4 separate regions of the Homo sapiens genome follow, and all the other regions are linked to region 1. The links are contacts of gene promoters, found by promoter capture Hi-C in blood cells and fetal thymus (Javierre and others, 2016). All regions are on one chromosome and are shown on one strand. Each heading gives the region's core, a stretch centred on a gene start or on the middle of the fragment in contact. The rest is flanking DNA. Distances are from core to core; before and after follow the strand shown. Region 1 holds the start of VSIG4 (V-set and immunoglobulin domain containing 4). Region 2 has its middle 120 kb from the start of MSN. Region 3 has its middle 160 kb from the start of MSN. Region 4 has its middle 110 kb from the start of MIR223HG.

The links. Contacts are between HindIII fragments. The CHiCAGO score rates a contact against its expected background, and 5 or more counts as called.
Region 2: a fragment that was not itself captured here is called in contact with the fragment with the promoter of VSIG4 in region 1 in 7 of 17 cell types (monocytes, total B cells, neutrophils and 4 more); the score reaches 8.1 in monocytes.
Region 3: a fragment that was not itself captured here is called in contact with the fragment with the promoter of VSIG4 in region 1 in 2 of 17 cell types (neutrophils and monocytes); the score reaches 6.2 in neutrophils.
Region 4: a fragment that was not itself captured here is called in contact with the fragment with the promoter of VSIG4 in region 1 in 2 of 17 cell types (neutrophils and monocytes); the score reaches 10.2 in neutrophils.

The regions. Positions count from the first base shown.
Region 1 is chrX:66,038,602-66,041,454 of GRCh38, forward strand. VSIG4 (V-set and immunoglobulin domain containing 4) reads right to left here and starts at 1,479. Exons shown (of 8, transcript NM_007268.3): 1 at 1,343-1,479. The coding sequence starts at 1,397. The HindIII fragment of the contact is 1,000 bases long and covers 976-1,975 here.
Region 2 is chrX:65,783,463-65,786,315 of GRCh38, forward strand. No RefSeq gene overlaps it. Among named protein-coding and RNA genes, the nearest start is that of MSN, 120 kb to the left of the region's middle. The HindIII fragment of the contact is 168 bases long and covers 1,345-1,512 here.
Region 3 is chrX:65,828,123-65,830,975 of GRCh38, forward strand. No RefSeq gene overlaps it. Among named protein-coding and RNA genes, the nearest start is that of MSN, 160 kb to the left of the region's middle. RefSeq lists a silencer at 789-1,001. The HindIII fragment of the contact is 1,431 bases long and covers 702-2,132 here.
Region 4 is chrX:65,901,901-65,904,753 of GRCh38, forward strand. No RefSeq gene overlaps it. Among named protein-coding and RNA genes, the nearest start is that of MIR223HG, 110 kb to the right of the region's middle. The HindIII fragment of the contact is 4,674 bases long and covers 1-2,853 here.

The sequences.
Region 1 (2,853 bases), core at 229-2,728:
AACCAACAGACTTGGAGAAGGTAGAGAGATACATTATAAAACCTGCTAGAGAATGGAAATGTGGTAGTTATAGAAAGAAAAATGTTTTTTCAGGAGCATTAACTCTGCCACTAATGCTCTTTGGCTTGGGGGCAAATTATTTTTTCTCTTGGTTGACTTAATTCAGAGTCTTTTCTAACTCTGAGGTTCCAGAGTGTGATGGGTCACAGAGCCCCAGGATAGGGTAACCTAATCAGAGTCAGCTACGGAAAGCTGGATTCTTTCTGACCTAACAAGTGACACCAAGCTAACACCTATCCAGCCTTTTTCTCTAGGGATGATAGGGAAGCAGCAAAATCCCCCTTTACCCTATATTGGATCTCACTTAGCTGTTACCCAGGTTGAGTTTCCTGAAAATCCATCTCACTTCTCAGGAGTGTAGATGAGGATAGAGCTTCCCAAGCTCCAAGGAAATAATGCCACTATGGAATAGTCCATCCTCCTTTGGGATTTGTATCCAGCCCATAAATAGCCCAGACAAATTGAGCCATGTCTATAGGGAAGTGAGTTATCCCAGGAATGGGTAAGAAACCAAGTCCTATGAAGACCAGTTGAAAAAGCTGGGGCTGTTCAGCTTGGAGGAGAGAAGAGTCAAGGAGACATAGTACTTGTCCTCAGGGCTTTGAAGGGCTATCACAGGGCAAGGAAGCATCTATGTTCTGTGTAGCCCCAAGAAGCAAAGCTGGGGTTTTTGGATGGAAGTCAGAGGGAACTGGATTTAGTTCAACACAAATAAGAACTTTCTAACAGTTGGAGCTGCTCCTGGATGGACTAGATGGTCTGGGGAGGTAGTGAACAGTGAAATCTCAATCACTACTGGATGTTTCTGAGCACTTATTCATGACAATGAAGGGTGGTATAGGTTACTTCTATAGTCCTATCCAACTCTTAGAAAACACTCCTTCTTCGGGGGCTGTATATTTTAACAGAGACCAAAGCTTGGAAGCAGAGTGGTTAAGTCCAATTGTAGAATTTTAGATGAGAGACAGCAGATGGAGGAAAGATTCGGATGTCATTGGGAACCTTCTTGATGCCCCTGAGATACAAGCCCTAGAAAATAATGCAGATGTTTTCCAAGAGAAAAATCCTTTTTCAATTTCTGCCCAAACTTGCCTTCTGGCTTCTTCAGCAGCCTTCAACTACATCCATCCGTTTTGCTCAAGGCTGAGAGAGCCTGCAGAGTTTGGCTGAGAAGACTCACCTGCCCAGTAGGAATAGGCTTTCCATAGTAGACATTAAACACCAACCCTCTAGCCTTTTGCCTAAGCCAGCAATGGCAGCCAGGCCCCCCTTTCTGCCTTACCATAAGTGTCCACTGTTAGGTGCCCCAGGAGTAGCAGGCCCAGTAAGATCCCCATCACAGCCAGAGCTACTTCTGTCCTTTCTTCCAGCCTCCTGCTACCAAAGAGGCTCAAACTTCTGGTGGCCGCCAGCGTCTGTGACTGCTTACTTCCCTTCCTTCCCTATATCTCTCACTCAAACTCCTAGTCCCATCACACATTCCCCTTCCTTCCCTATTTCAGTACAGGTCATGTGGGGTGCCCCCCTTCCCCCACCTCCTTGGGGTTGGAGGTTCCAGGATGAGTGAAGCAATTCTTCCCCCTGCTAGGGTATTGACTTGACTTTCCTTGGAGCCAATGGGGCTTTCTGGTCTTTGATCTCCTAGGCTGTATTTATTTTGAGTCTCCTCCACAAGATTCAGAGGTTGTGGGGGCGACCTTTGGGATGAGTCTTCCCACTCCAGTATGGCGGTGTTTTCCTTTGTGGTGAGCCCAGGGAGAAGAGATCAACTTTGCTGACCTACCCAATTTTCATTAGTTGTACTGTTAACCCTTGCCTGTGCAGCCTATGCAACTGGACAGGGTGTTGGGCCCGGGGTGCTTTTGGGCTTAAGAGTACAAGAGTTTAGTGTATTAAAGGGCTTTCTACACATCAAAGCTTGAATAATTGACAAGCCAATGGATAAGGCTGTTATGGGTGAATATGCCTCATATCTCATATTGGGGAAGCTCTTTGAATCACTTTCTACAATGGCTCCACCTCTCTGATGGTAAGGGAGAATTCATTTTCATTAATGTTCTCCATGCTTTTTCATAAGGAATTTATTTTTTACTTCTTTTAAGGGAAATTTAAGCCTAGCCTCCAGTGCAGCAGCCCATTAGTGGTATGCTGTATTAGGTTGAATTTTTCATTGACTTCCAATTGGTACAGGCCCTTGACCTACAAGAGAGTAATATTATGCCTCCTAGCAAAGCTCAACTGCTCCAGAAATTGCTCCTCTTCACAGGCCCCAGAGTGACTGTAATTTCATCAGCAGTCTAACTAGGTTTGGCACTGCGCTTTGTCTACTAAGCTTTGAAACAATAAGCACTTTCAAAAGCACAAATACATCCCAAAAATTCATACTGCACTGTAAGTAACAGCTAAGCTTAGTTTACTCTTTGATTGGAGGGATAGGAAAGGACTTGGTCAGGGGAGGGAGGAGTTTGTGCAGAGATGGGGAGTGGGAATATAAAGAAACATACTTGCCAAGGGGTGGCTGCATGCAGATGATTTGGAGCTGTGCACGGGCTAAGGAGACATTCCAGCATTTCAGGACACATTATTACATGGAATTCTATCAATCACCTCTGCCTCTAGGGCCCAATCCCCCTTGGCTGGTTGTTCCTTGTTTTTTGAGTACTGCACTCATTCCATCTCACTGGAAATTTCAGCCATTTTTTCCCACCGGGTCCTCACTCAGGAAACCCTGAACTTCACAGAACCCTCCTTTGATATTTTTCAACCAACACCCTATCACCACTACACCACCAC
Region 2 (2,853 bases), core at 179-2,678, 260 kb before region 1:
TAACTTACAACACTATGAAAGAAAAGGAACTTTACAGGAACACAGTGGGAGTTCATAAAGGAAAGAGTTCAGAAGCTCTTTCCCTTGGGACCCCCAAATATAAAACAAAAACAAAACACACAAAGCACAACCACAGGTTCTTTGAGGAAAACAAAACAAAACCAACTCCAATGTTCCATCTCGAAGCCAGAATCAGCCCCTTGGAAGTTTGTAAAGCAACTGTGTAAGCTGCTTCACCAATTTCTTCTGTTAGAATGTTCCAGGTCCTGGAACCCTGTCGATGGGACCCACTCACTGATATTGCTTGAAAAAGTTATTCACTTCCAGTTCTACAAGCAGCCCCACTCTCCTGAGCCAAAGCTGGTCAAAAGTGTTTTCAACTTCAAGAATTTCTGTGCAATTCTCTCTTCATTGATCCTCTCCACTCCCAAAGTCATGAATATACAGACGTGTAAAATCACTCCCCCAACCACAAAGTTTGTGAACACCCACTTTTTCCTCTCTAGATTTCTCAGTTTAGGACACTGTGGTTAAAATACATACACTAGAAAGAAAATACACATTCAAACTCATTTCCCCTAGTTCTCATGGCCCAAATATTTTTCAATGCAGAAGATAATGAAGTTGAACCTCAAAAGCAGTACTTCCTAACTTCCAATCTCTTCTAGAAGGACATAAAAAAGATGGAAATCATGTTATATCGACCATTAGTGTTGGATAGTTTTAAAAGTCTATTTTCATATATAAATGCAATGAACAAGGGGTATAAATCACACCTTTAAACTAGCAAGAGGAAAGAATCTCTTCCCAAATGTTACACTGAGGAATGTTTCTTTAAATGAGAAAGGCCTTAAAATTAACAGATGATCACTATACACAGCCTAAAAATTCCATGACTGTCCAAAGCACCTCAAGGTAACAGCATCAAAGCACTGTGGGTGAAGCTTCTAGGGGAGAGCACCCCTCCTACAGTTTTTTGAGATTACTTAGATGAATTAATTCTCCTTTAGGATTCCCTCGGATGGGGCAGGGACTAGAATAAAATTGACTCGTGAGGAGGGAAATAATGAGGTACAAGTGCATGTGGAATTGTTGAAGTAAGCATGTGAGAGATCACTGCTTATCACCCCAGGGTTATCAAAACAGCCTTGGAAATTGCTCCTTCCTCATAATGCCTCTGAAATTGTAAATCCATCCAAATTTGCTCCCGCTTGAGTGGTTATACTCGGGAAATGAATTATTAAAATGTGCAAGTATTCACATAAATTGAAACATTTCTCCTTTTAGCTGCAAGGCCAAGTGAAAGGAAAACTAATTCTGATCCTAGAAACTAAGGTACGCTGAAGCTTTCAAAGATCCAATCATTTGAATTAGTCTTCACAACCATCAGTATCCTAGGCAGTTATTTGACTGCTAGTCCTTCAGTATGGTGCTTGCGTTCAGTTTCCGAAATCAATTCATATTCTACGCAGCACCTTTGTGTTAAGGCCATAATATTTTACTCCTAGACAAAGCTTTGGATAATCATAAACTCTACTTCAAAACTATGGTCATCCAAGGAAATGCTCTGTCAGTAGAGTAGACCCTTTCCAGCTCCATTAGCTGACACTGTCTTATAGCATGGTCTTGAACAGATTTCTTCAGAGATTCAACCCAGTTCAAATTAAAATAAAAAACCTGAGCTGGTTAGCTACAAATATAGGAGAGAAAAATAAAGCCTCTATACAAACAGGCTTTATTTTATCTAACAAAGAAGAATGTTAAGACAAATTCTATTCAAGAAATCCACCAACATTATGTTAATCCTATCATGTTTCACAACATTAAGTATCCATCCAATGAAATCAGTCTGCAAAGAAACCCTTAAAGGCTATTTTTCATTGCACAGGCAGAGCAGTTGTCTGAAATATGCACTAGTCCACACTTACATTACTGAAAACTATGGAGGAGATAATATCCTGTGATTGACTCAGTCAACCATTTACCCAGTGGAGTAAGTTTTAGCAGATCTTGCTCATACATACTAATAAGACCAAAACTTTCCCCTGTGGAGCCTTTAGTTAAACTCTAGTTTGTCAAATGTTAGGAATAGTCTAGTATCTGATACAGAGCTATATTTGACGAGACACTGAAGATTTTAAGTAAAGGCTTGGTGAAATGGAGGGGAAAAAAAGGATATTTGTTTCCAGGTTTAAGATTGAAGCCAAAGTAGTCATTATACTGTATTCAATACAGTAACAATTGCAAACATTATAAGAGCAAAGTGGGCCTCACTTTTTCTTTCTTCTTCAGTATATAAGACGTGGTGCCTGAATACTTGAACGTACATAGTACATTCATCATGTACCACAGAGAGAGTCACATCTACTTCATTCCAGTAACTCAGTTTCGAAGTTTAATAACACATGGGTCCTTTCTAAAAAGCACTTGGCACTCTCACTAGTTTAAAAATCTCAAGTCTTTGATGTGGATATTTCTGAGATTTGTCTTAAAAGAGACCAATTTCTCAGACTCAGGAAAGGCTATTCCTACCCTATGGTATCCATAAGACTTCCTCTGACATGGGGGCAAGGAAGCTACAAGGCTTCACTCCGACACCATAAAGTACAATATAGGGAAGATTTCTTTAACCATGTGGTCTTTATTTCAGTGCCAGTGTTAACAGATACAACACAAATGCTCCAGTCAGAAGGAATTCAAATGGAATGCCAAGGTCCAAGCAAGGCTCAGAAATAAAAAGAGAGGTTTGGAGTAATAGATAAGATGACTCCAATATACTCCAGGATGAGTCTGATACTCACTCTTCCTAAGGGCAAAGGTGCTTTTGATACAGAGTCTGATCTTTAAAACTGG
Region 3 (2,853 bases), core at 167-2,666, 210 kb before region 1:
CCCAAGGAAGCCCAGGGAACCCATTTCTGATGTTATCTCACAGGGGTTTTTGGGGAGGGTGCCAGTGAAATTGGGGAAAGATCACAGGGAGAAGGAAACTTCCAGCTGAACTTTGTAATAATTTTGACCAAGCACAAATTTTCCAGGGCAGAATCCGGGAGTGGGGGTGAACAAGAAATGCAGATATGAGCACAGAAGCCACAGTGGGGAGGGGCAAAGCTGAAAGCCCTGTTTGCTTTCTCAGCAAGAAAATCCCTGTTTGCTTTCTCAACAAGGATGCTTGTAGCCTGGCTCAAGTTCCAAGCCCTGCTCACCGGCTGCCTGGATATAAACTTGTGCTGTTGGGGGAGTGTGGCAGAAGTAAGATTGGCCTTTCTGTCTGAGTAGGAGCTGGGTGAGGCCTGTCACTGCTGGCTTTCCCCTACTTCCCTGGTGACCTGTATAACACAACAGAGGCAGCCATAATCCCCTGGGAACATAACATCATCTGCCTGGGAAACACACCCCCATCCCCCATAGTGGCTGCAGCAAGCCCCACTCAAGAAGAGTCTAAGGTTAGATATGCCTAACCCTTTCCCCACCTGATGGTCTTTCTCTACCCACGCTGGTAGCCAAAGACAAGAAACATAATCTCTTGGGAGCCGTATGGCCCCATGCAACACCTAAGAAACCCAAGTACTTATCCAGGCAACCCTAGGGTAAGCTTGTATCCTCTCTATACTACCACAGCTGATGCTCTCTTTTGAAAGTGCCACTTCCTAGCTTGGGAACAACCAACTTAAACCACTACAGCAACTCATAACAGAACAAACCTGCCCCATGAGAAGAGAAATCAACAGCTAATCCCACCGCCTGTAACATCCTGGCTAGCCAGAGGTCCTGAGGCTATCCACATGACAATTTTACAGCCAGCACAACCAGCAGTTGAGAAAAACAGCACACTAAACAAAACTACAGTCAAGGTCCCACACAGAGTCCACTTCACTCCTCTGTTACCTCCGCTGGAGTAGGTGCCTGTCTCCACAACTGAGAAACCTGAAGATGGATCACATCACAGAACTTTTTGCAGACACTCCTCAGTACCAGCCCAGTGCCTGATAGCTCCATTGGTGGATAAACCCAGAAGAGAAATAACAATCATGGCAGTCAGGCTCTCAGGAAGCCCCATCCCTAGAGAAAGGGAGAGAGCATCACAACAAGGGAGCACTCTGTGGGACAAAAAAATATGAACAGTAGCCCTTGAACCCCAAATCCTTCCTCTGATATAGTCTACTTAAATGAGAAGGAACCAGAAAAACAATTCGGGTAATATGTCAAAGCAATGTTCCTTAACACCCCTAAAAGATCACACTAGCTCACCATCAATGGGTCCAAACAAATAATGAAACTTTGAATTGCCAGATGAATAATTCAGAAGGTGAATTATTAAGCTACTCAAGGAGGCACAAGAGAAAGGTGAATACCAACTTAAAATTTTTTTTTAGTGTTAGAGGATATGAATAAAAAATCTCCAGAGAAATAGATAGCACAAATAAAAAACAATCACAACTTCTGGAAATGAAGGACACACTTAGAGAAATGCAAAATGCAAATTAAAGTCTCAATAATAAAATTTAAAAAATAGAAGTAAAAACTTTAGAGCTGGAAGACAAGGTTTTGAATTAACCAAATCTGACAAAGATAAAGAAAAAAGAATTTAAAAAAGTAAACAAATCTTCCAAGAATTTTGAGATTATGTTAAATGACCAAACCTAGGAATAACTGGTGTTCCTGAGGAAGAAGAGAAATCTAAAAGTTTGAAAAAACATATTTGAGGGAATAATTGAGGAAAACTTCCTTGGCCTTGCTAGAGATCTAGACATCCAAATACAAGAAGTTCAAAAACACCAAGAAAATATATTGCAAAAAGATTATTGCCTAGGCACATAGTTATCAGAGTATCTAAAGTCAAGATGAAGGAAAGAATCTTAAGAGCTGTGAGGCAAAAGTATCAGGTAACCTATAAAGTAAAACTAATCAGATTAACAGCTGATTTCTCAGCAGAAATCCTACAGGCTAGAAGGGATTGGGGTCCTATCTTTAGCCTTAAACAAAACAATTGTCAGTCAAGAATTTTGTATTCAGTGAAACTAAGCTTCAAAAATGAAGGAAAGACACAGTCTTTTTCAGACAATGCTGAGAGAATCTGCCGCTACCAAGCCAGAACTACAAGAACTGCTAAAAGGACCTCTAAATCTTGAAACAAAAACTCAAAATACACGAAAATAGAACATTCTTAGTCAAAATACACAAAAATAGAACCTTCTTAGAGCATAAATCTCACAAGACCTATAAAACAATAACACAATAAAAAAAACTGAAAGGTATTCAGGCAACAACTAGCATGATGAATAGAATAGTGCCTCACATCTCAGTACTAATGCTGAATGTAAATGGCCTAAATGCTCCACTTAAAAGATACAGAATAGCATAATGGATAAGAATTCACCAACCAAATATCTGCTTTCTTCAAGAGCCTTACTTAATATATAAGGATTTATATAAACTTAAGGTAAAGGGGTGGAAAAAGATATTCCATGCAAATGGACGCCAAAAGCAGTAGCTATTCTTATATCAGACAAAACAAACTTTAAGGAACAACAGTTAAAAAAGACAAAGAGGGATATTATATAATGATAAAAGGTCTATCACAATCTAAATATATATGCATCTAACACTGCAGCTACCAGATTTATTAAACAATTACTGCAAGACCTAAGAACTGAGATAGATGGCAACACAATAATAGTGGGGGACTTCAATACTCCACTGACAGCAGTAGACAGGTAATCAACACAGAAAGTCAACAAAGAA
Region 4 (2,853 bases), core at 255-2,754, 140 kb before region 1:
GTGCCTCTACTCACATTCTACTCCTTTCTGGATTGCCAAATGTGCATATCTTGACCTGTTGAAATCATATATATTGTCAAAGAAAAACAAAAGAAATCATATATATTGTCAAAGTCCCAGTGAATATGCCACACTCCCAGAAACTTTCCAATGGCTCAGTTGGCATGAATTTCTTTCGTCTACATGACCATCACACTTTACCTATAATTGTCAAGAAACTTTATCAATTCGTCCTTGTGACTAGATCTCTTACTACACTGTAAGATCCTTGTGTCTAAATTACCGCTGGATCCCCAGTGCTTGGCCCAATGCCAAATAAAGAATAATACAAACACAGTAAATGCTTAATGAAATGCATTGTGCTATGTGACCTTGGAAAAATCTCTTTTCTTCTCTGGGGATCCAGAAATAATTTAGACACTGTCACTGCTAATGATTTCCTCTGTGACACTGAGTCTCCCCTCACCACCTCACCTTCATCATAACCATGCCCTATTTCTCTTTACCTTATGAGTTGCCAAATAAATAAAGGCTTTAATTCCTGTTTGAAAGCAGCAGACCTTTCCCTGTTCTTCCACACTTGTAGATGCTAATAGCTACTACTGCCTCAGTGTGGATTAATTTTGATTTCTTCTTTAGCTTATGAGAGTTGAAGAGAGGGATAGAACAAGATATTCTTGAGTACTTAGAATTGTGGGTAGACAGCAAATCCTGACACTAAAGTGAGAGAAAGTACAGATTTTGAAGCTGGGACCAAAGTTTTAACCAACTTGGCAGAATGGCCCCAGGTCAGGGATGCGTGTAGAGAATGCTGGGAGCAGAGGATGCTGATTTTGAAGTGACTGCTTGGGATGGAGAGGTAACTTAAACTGGAAGCCTTTCCAGGGTGCTCAGGCATAAGATAGCTATCACCCCTGTCCTAGAGCATGTGGACTGTGGCCTGGCTATCAGTGAGCTCATCAGATTGGCTCAGGGAAGGGGACCTGTCCAGGAGGCAAACATAAAGAGGAAATTTCGAGATGAGCTCATCTTGAGGCCAAAAAATAAAAATGAAAAAAATACCAGAGGCACTAAATGGGCAATGAACTAAAGAAACCCAATCTCATAGAAAATCAGATTGTTGGCTGGGTGCGGTGGCTCATGCCTGTAATCCTAGCACTTTGGGAGGCTTAGGGGTGTGGATCATGAGGTCAGGAGTTCAAGACCAGCTTGGCCAACATGATGAAACGCTGTCTCTACTAAAAAATACAAAACAATTAGCTGGGCACGGTGGCGGGCACCTGTAATCCCAGCTACTCGGGAGGCTGAGGCAGGAGAATCACTTGAACCCGGGAGGCAGAGGTTGCAGTGAGCCGAGATCATGCCACTACACTCTAGCCTGGGCAACAGAGGAAGACTCCGTCTAAAAAAAAAAAAGAATACCAGTTTGTTAAAACTTAAAGGTAATTTAGGCTTCACTGGGTCCACTGCCACAGCCACATTTTGGACTGAGGTTCCTGGCACCAACTGGTGACAGCAAGGCAGGGCTCCAAACTTAAAAGAAGAAGATACTAGGCAAGTGCTTGAATCAAGGGACTCATATTCTTGATAGGAAACAAAGATGGAGCACAGAGAAAGAAATATTTATTTTGCAAGGCACCATGCTGGCTATTATTATGATATACATTGTGCTGGCTATTTTATAAATGCCAATATAAGAAGAAAAAAAAGTTCTCATATTTTAACAACACATGAGGAAACTGAGGCTTAGAGAGGGGAAGCAACTTGTTGGAGGTCAGTCAGGTTGTGGTGTATCACAGCTTAGAGCCTAGCTCCCATCATTCCCAAGTTTCCTCAGGTTTCTTCTGCTTCTATTTCCTTGATCTTATCTTGTTTGTGTATTAGAGGGTGGAAATGCCTTCTGTGATTGCAGGTGCTGCCTTTTCTTACCTTGGTTTTTGTAGTTGCTGGCAGCCCAGCAGAGACTCTAGTTTGGGGGAAGATATATAGGGCAATTACGTGCATGTGAGTATGTTCTGTTCCTCCTAGCTCTCAAGATATTGCTGACTAAGCTGTGTGCCTAGATCTTTGAAAACTTTTTTAGCAGGTGAGAGTCCCCTTCCTGAGGTTGGAGCACTGCTCAAAAGCCTAGTGGGAAAGGGACTCATGTGTTTACAGATTCCCTTTGCTGCAGGGGTCAGAGGGAAAGCCAGAGCACTATGGGGCCAAAGGGAAAGCTGGCTGTTCATGTCCTCTGCTCCATCCTGCACCAGAAGCCACCTACCCATGAGGGTTGAAATTAATGAAAATGTAGCCAATATTTTCAATTAGGTCCAGTGTTATTTAAACTTCATTCATTCAAATTGAGTGCAGAGAATCAAGGTCATAGATCCTGGAAAAATTGTGACATATGCAGTCTTATCTGTTCATCTCTCCTCTACCACTTAGCAATTGTGTGGCTTTGGACAAGTCAGTTCTTATTTTCTTCATGTGTAAAATCCTGAATAGGAAGGGTTGGGGAAGGTTGGAATGAATCATCTCCAGATATATAATAATCTTAAAACCAAAGAGTTTTAGTACTACATAATCAAAAAAATTATAATCCTATAATTCTAAACCTACAAACCTATAACTTATAATTTCAAAATCAAGTGTGTCTTCCTTTCCTCTTGTCCTATATTGATCTTTTGTCCTATTCTCAGGACAAAAGATTCTTAATTGTTTCTCAGTTGAGGTACAAGTTTTCAATTAAATACTGTCATTACAATACTGTCATTATCAGTATTGACCTATAATGAAGGCATCATTTGGATATCTGGAAAGGCAGAAGGAGTTAAGAGCATTAATCTTGCTTTTAGACCCGAGGAAACCTAG